Regions from separate parts of the Homo sapiens genome. Here region 2 is linked to region 1. The links are contacts of gene promoters, found by promoter capture Hi-C in human tissues and cell types (Jung and others, 2019). All regions are on one chromosome and are shown on one strand. Each heading gives the region's core, a stretch centred on a gene start or on the middle of the fragment in contact. The rest is flanking DNA. Distances are from core to core; before and after follow the strand shown.

Region 1 (3,254 bases), core at 481-2,980:
CGGCCGCTGACACTGGAACAGAGAGATGTGGCTTTTAGCCCCTGTTGAGGCACCACCGACTACAGGTGCCCCACCATTGCCATGCCTCTGTGTCCTCCAGAGTATTCGGTGGTACAGGTCCAAGGGATGGATGCCATGGAGATAAAGTCCCTGGCCCAGGGCCCCCCAGCCCGAGGGGCAGGAGACCTTTCCATGCCTCTGGGATGTTTTTGTTTATTTCTAACTCTGAGCTCCTTCTCTGTGGGGGAGGAGCTTCCCTTTCCATCTCCAGGGCTACTGAGAAAATGTTGGACAGAGGAAGGAAGGCAGGGCAGGGCCAGGCTGCAGCTAGCATCTGGACTGTTGGCTAATGCTGGTGATGGCGCAGAAGACCCTTGCCCCCTTTTACAGCTTCTCCCCTAGAAGCCTGGCCCAGATGCCTGAATTCCCACCTTTCATGCACTTAGCCCTGGGGCTTGCAGTTTTGCCAGGTCCTTACTGCCTCCTCCCTCCTGTGGCCTGCCCGGAGGGGCACACAAGCAAAGCCAGTGCCTCTGTGGACAGGCAGCTTAAGACATTAGGAGACAAATGAAGGAAGGAGGCAAAACTTCCAAGGCCGGACTATCTCCTCTGGACCAGAGTTTCGGCCTGCTGGGAATGGAGTCACCAGCCCCGGGGGGGCTGACAGGTGGCTCCCGCCTACAGAGCTGTAACTCATCCCTGCTGCTGAACAGGAAAGGGCCTGCCTTACCCAGATCCCATCCTCCGGAAAGGGTTAGTCAGGCAAGTGTGCTGAGAGGCCCCTGGGAACCTCGTCTCGATTAACCCATCAGAAAGCAGCCCATCCTTTGCACCCAGCTCTCAGATGGAAAAGTGAAGCCCAGAAGGAAGGGACCTGACACGGAGGCTTCCTTGGTAGCATTTCAGTCTCAAGGGAAGAACTGTGGGCCTCCCCTGGAGCACTGGTGAAGTAAGGGGTTGGTTTGGATATTGTCTCCTGACTGGGATATGGGCAGGACTGACAGGGAGCTGGAGTCCTAACGAAGCCTGGGCTAGGTGCAGGAAGAACCAACCCAGTGGTCTCCTGACATCTCCCACGCCCCCACCGCAGCTGGGTCACCTCCAGAATACGGAGGAGAGAGCTGGAGGTGGAGGAACTAAGGACCTTCTTTGCCAGGTGGGGACTTAAAGGTAAGGCGACGATTACTTTTCGGCGATGGGGGTGGGATGGAAACAAAGCCCTTTGAGGTCTGGGGCAGCCTCTGGTGGCGCGCGCGGGTTTAAGTGGTGGCGGGCCGCGCCCGATCCCTGTCCTGGACCTTCACCCTCTCCTGAGGGCCTGGGCGGGCCGCCCAGCGCCAGCATGGCCTCCTTGGAGGGGCTCCCGCAGTGCCCGCAGCGCAGCTCCGGCTCCTCCGGAGCCTCTGTTCCGCTGCCTCCCTGCGGGCACCATCTGTCTGCTCGCCGGGGTGGGCGTTCTGCCTGCCCCCTGCGTCTCAGTGGAGGACCGAGCCTTCCGAGCCAAGCTGCCGGTCCAGGAACTTGCGGACCGCGCCGACCCGCTGCTTCTGCCTGCGCATCCACGCAGGTGCCCCTGCCTGAGCCCTAGGTCGCGCGCTATCCTCACCGGCTTCCTGGGCGGTCCCCTCCACCTGTTGCTTCAGGTCCTGCAAGCCCTTGCTTGCCATGGCTTCGGGGTATCTGTGGAGTCGTCAAGAGCAGCTGGAGCGACGTTGGATCCTGCCCAGAGTGGCGATGCCAAGCGCCAGCTCCGGTTTTTAAGGCGCCCCAGGGCTGGCCTGCCCCGCGTAGGGGAGAGGGCGCGGGGCGGTTCCCGTCATACAGGCTCCGGGGAGTGGCCGGGCCCTGCTCCAGAGTCCGCAGGGCAGGGAGCACATCCTGGCCTAAGACGGGCCGCGGTGGGAAAGGGGCAGACCGAACCAGGGACCGAAGAGGTGCCAGGACAGGGGTCCAGAGAGGAGCTGGAGGCAGGAGAAGGGCGCACACCACCTCCCAGCTCATCAGCCCCAGCCCTCCCTTTCTGATCCTGGGCGTGAGCGCTGGGTCAGCTCCAGGGCAGGAGCTCAGGGCTGGTGTTGACCTTAATGACAGCAGTGGTCTTTTACTGAGCATTTGTCTTGTGCCAGGTGCTGCCTAACGCTCTGCAGTCTCTTGTATAATCTTTACAACCACCTCCTGAAGTGGGTATTTTTGTTGATAGCATCAGTGTATAGGAGGAAACTGAGGCAGTGAGGTCGGTCTCACCCAAACGCATGTGGCAGGGACTTGGATCCTCGAATCTGCCTAGGTGCCTGTAAACCCTAGGGCTCTGGCATCATCGGAGCCCCCAGCCCCAAACAGCTGCAGGGGCACTGCTGACTGGCTCTCTGCCTGTAGCCAGAGACCCAGTGGATGCAGCCGGAGAGGGCCTGGTAAATCTTTCCCCTGAGAGGGCGAGATACAGGTGTGTGCACTTGCAGACCATGCAACCCCAAGGGGGAGAGGGCAGTGTGCCTGTGCAGCCCAGGCAAGGAGATTGCCGTCTGTCACCGAAGCCTTAGGAAGTTGGGCAGGAAGCATGGCTCAGGGAGGGCAGGAATAAGCTTGGGCCTCTCAGGTCACCTTTCCTGAGATGGGGCAGGCAAGGCGCTAGAGAGTATGACTTGTGGCTGTTAGGAGGGGACTTAGGGACCTGGGCCTGAGTGGAGAAGATCATCCTTGGGTGCAGCAAAACAGCTTGCAAGATACATTCCCCTGGCACACAAGGGGTGTAGGTCAGGCCCCACCCAGCTGGGTATACTCCCACTCCAGAGTAGGCCTTCAGGACCTGGAGGCCAGTGCACACCCACCCTGCCTTTCTGGGTCTCTCTACCGCTTCCTGTCCGGGGCTGTTTCTTGCACCTCTGCTGGTGTCTCCCCTATTCTGGAGCGCTGGGAAGCCCCTGCCACACAGGCTTGGTCTGCTGGCACATACCCTGCTTCTAGTGCTGCGGGGTCAGCCCCTAGAGGGAGTTGTTTGGAAGTGCACCTGTACACACACACACACACACACACACACACACACACACACACACACACACACGGTATGGATTAATGGAGATGAGGTCAACCCTGGGCAAAGGGAAGAGGCAGGTGATGAGATTAGGTGGAGGAAGGGGGAGGGAGCAGGTCTCAGGCAAAACAAAGCGGCAGCAACAGTCCTCCCAGCCCCCCGCCCCTCCTCTCCCAGAGCGAGGCCTTGCCCTGGGAGCGGCCATATGGATGCCTTGGGGACT
Region 2 (3,254 bases), core at 298-2,797, 180 kb before region 1:
CTATAAAAGTTTTCACTATGGAAACCAATGACCTTCTAGAAGCCAAATCCAAAGGTCAGTTTTCAATACTTTTACTACCATTTGAAACTGTTTATCAATCCCTCTTTTCTGAAACATTCCGCTTTTTTGACTCTGTGAGACCACCATATTGGAATTCTTTTGTACTTAAGACAGATATGTATTGGATTATTCCTTCAATCACTTACGTAACAAACATTCAACATTACGTGCTGGGCATTATGCTAGGCCCTGGGAATTCAAAACAATAATAGAGAGCTTTAAGGAGCTTAATTTCTGAGAGGAAAAACAAACTGACAATTATAAAAAGTGACAGGAGGCCAGGAGCCTTGGCTCACGCCTGTAATCCCAGAACTTCGGGAGGCTGAGGCAAGTGGATCACCTGAGGTCAGGAGTTCAAGACTAGCCTAGGCAACATGGTAAAATCCTGTAAAAATACGAAAATTAGCCAGGTGTGGTGGCACGCACCTGTAATCCCAGCTACTCAGGAGGCTGAGGCATGAGAATCGCTTGAACCCAGGAGGCAGAAGTTACAGTGAGCTGAGATCACACCACTGCACTCCAGTCTGGGTGACTCTGTCTCAAAAAAAAAAAAAAAGTGATAGGAGCTACTACAGGATTAAAAGGAAGGGACAGCAACTCTAGAAGAGAGAAGCCTGGGGCAGTTCAACCAATGTGGAACTGCCCATTATCTGCATTTTTCGTAGGCTCTTAGGACTACAGTTAATCACAAAATTTTGGAACTGAATTTTATTAATGTTCAGAAAAAAAGTCATATAATAAAGTCCCCGAGTCATTCCCCACCCCAAAATAGGGCCCAGGAAAGCTGCCCTAATTGCCTTACCCAAGGGACAGGCCTACTATGGGTAATCTCCAAAATGTTTAAAAGGTGTATACGACATTTACCGCTTCTGTGTCCTCACTTAATATTTTCTCCTAAATGTTCTGCAACCTTTCATTTCCTATCTGTGATAAGACAATAATGAAGTCCAAATTGCCAAATAAGAACTCACAGTGCTTCACCACTGCAGTTGTGAAACTCTCTCCTTAGTTTCTAGAACATTACTCTTTCCTAAATTGTTCTACCTCTCCAATTTCTCTCTCTCTCTCTTCCTCCTTGGGCCACCTCTTTCCATTCCACACACCTCTAGAGAATTTCATCCAATCCCATTCATATAACTACCACATATCCAACTGTGCTTTACATATCTATACTGAGCCAATCTCTCTCCCAAACTTCAGACCTATATTTCTAGCATTACTATATTTGATAGGATCACAGTAGAATCAACATGAAGCAATCCTGAGAATTCAGAGGATCTCTCAGGGCAAGAAATATCTGAGATGAATGTGAGATCCATAAAACACAAGGTTTTTTTGTTTTTTTTTTTTTTTTCTTTTTTTTTTTTTTTGAGACAGAGTCTCGCTTTTGTCACCCAGGCTGGAGTGCAATGGCACGATCTCAGCTCACTGCAACCTCTGCCTCCTGGGTTTAAGCGATTCTCCTGCCTCAGCCTCCCAAGTAGCTGAGATTACAGGCATGCACCACCATGCCCAGCTAATTTTGTATTTTTAGTAGAGATGGGGTTTCTCCATGTAAGTCAGGCTGGTCTCGAACTCCCAACCTCAGCTGATCCGCCTGCTTCGGCCTCCCAAAGTGCTGAGATTAGAGGCATGAGCCACCACGCTGGGCGGCACAAGGTTATTATATATAATTGTTATTTCAGTGTGCCTTCACTTATTTGTCTAAATCAGGGGTGTCTAATCTTTTGGCTTCCCTGGGCCACAATGGAAGAAGGAGAATTGTCTTGGGCCACACATAAAATACAGTTAACACTAATGATAGCTAATGAGCTTAAAAAAAAAAAAATCGCAGGCTGGGCGCGGTGGCTCAAGCTTATAATCCCAGCACTTTGGGAGGCCAAGGTGGGCAGATCACTTGAGGTCAGGAGTTTGAGACCAGCCTGCCCAACATGGTAAAACCCCGTCTCTACTAAAAATACAAAAATTAGCTTGGAGTGATGGCACACACCTGTAATCCCAGCTACACCAGAGGCTGAGGCAGGAGAATCGCTTGAACCCAGGAGGTGGAGGTTGCAGTGAGCCAAGATCGGGCCACTGCACTCCAGCCTGGACAACAGAGCGAGACTCTGTCTCGAAAAAAAATCTCAAAAAGAACTCATAATGTTTTAAGAAAGTTTACAAACTCATGTTGGGTTGCATTTAAAGCCGTCCTGGACCACATGCAGCCCCACAGGCTGTGGGTTGAACAAGCTTCGTCTAAACAAATACCCTTGTAAGTGTGGAACTGTTACCCTACCCTCCTCACCACCCCCAAAAAAAATTTGACTAGAAAGTGGCCCTATTAAATCAAAAAATAGTAAATTTTTAAAAAGTGTTTATACCAAAGGCTACTGCTACTAAATACTCCAATTTATAGGAGTTGTGAGTATGTGAGTAGGAGGATGGAAACTGGCAAGGGCAGGGGGAAACAAAATATGTATGATAGCCAAATTATACAGACAGAAAAGTTATGGACAACTGATTAATTTCAATAATTCTAGGATATGTTTTAGGTGTATTCAGAGGGTTAAAGCTCATTAAGATACCAGATGAAACTTGCAAGTACATCTCCATTACCGCAGTTAATAATTATACAATTTCTCAATCTGCAGAAAGCCGCTTCAGTCGGAAAAACCAATACAACCATAATCCTTTATCTTTAGAGTGGTCAGAGTCTGATGAATGGGTCAAAGATTTCTAAAACAGGATGAACTGTATCAGCAGGTTTTGTCTTTGCAGAACACTGCAACTAAAAAAAATGCTTATTACAAAACATGTATCATTAAAAGAGAGTGCTTTTCCCCTCTTATTACCAGGGAGTGAAAAAACTCCCTGTAGTAATGCCTTTTCATGTCTATTTTACCAAAAACACCAAAAAAAATCATAAAGTTGCTCAATAGCATCAAATGACAAAGAAGCCACATGGGATTGTAATTAAAAGCAAGGGATTTGGAACAAGAGAGATGTGGGTTCAAATTACTACTCTGCAACTTACTCAAACTTGAAATTATTGAAGTTAAGTGATAGTTGCATGGGGTTCATTATACTATCCCTTGTTGGTTAAAGAAAATCATCCTTTTATTCTTTGACCTGATTGAACCAAATTCAATTTGCTATCATAGTTCATTTGTGTTAACAACACAGTACTAATAACCCACGTACTGTGTATATTC

Evidence for each region. Contacts are between HindIII fragments. The study calls those that stand out against the background at their distance.
Region 2: a fragment that was not itself captured here is called in contact with the fragment with the promoter of ADIRF in region 1 in 2 of the 25 tissues and cell types used here (aorta and heart right ventricle).

Annotation. Positions count from the first base shown.
Region 1 is chr10:86,966,958-86,970,211 of GRCh38, reverse strand. It overlaps ADIRF (adipogenesis regulatory factor), which reads right to left and starts at 1,730. Exons shown (of 3, transcript NM_006829.3): 1 at 1,607-1,730; 2 at 1-12. The coding sequence starts at 1,667. ADIRF-AS1 (ADIRF antisense RNA 1) reads left to right here. Exons shown (of 2, transcript NR_170185.1): 1 at 1-1,170. RefSeq lists enhancers at 1-30, 31-784, 2,291-3,043, 3,024-3,203, 3,044-3,254 and a silencer at 626-920. The HindIII fragment of the contact is 7,922 bases long and covers 753-3,254 here.
Region 2 is chr10:87,145,233-87,148,486 of GRCh38, reverse strand. The region is part of intron 2 of SHLD2 (shieldin complex subunit 2); the gene reads right to left. Among named protein-coding and RNA genes, the nearest start is that of SHLD2, 52 kb to the right of the region's middle. The HindIII fragment of the contact is 4,468 bases long and covers 1-3,254 here.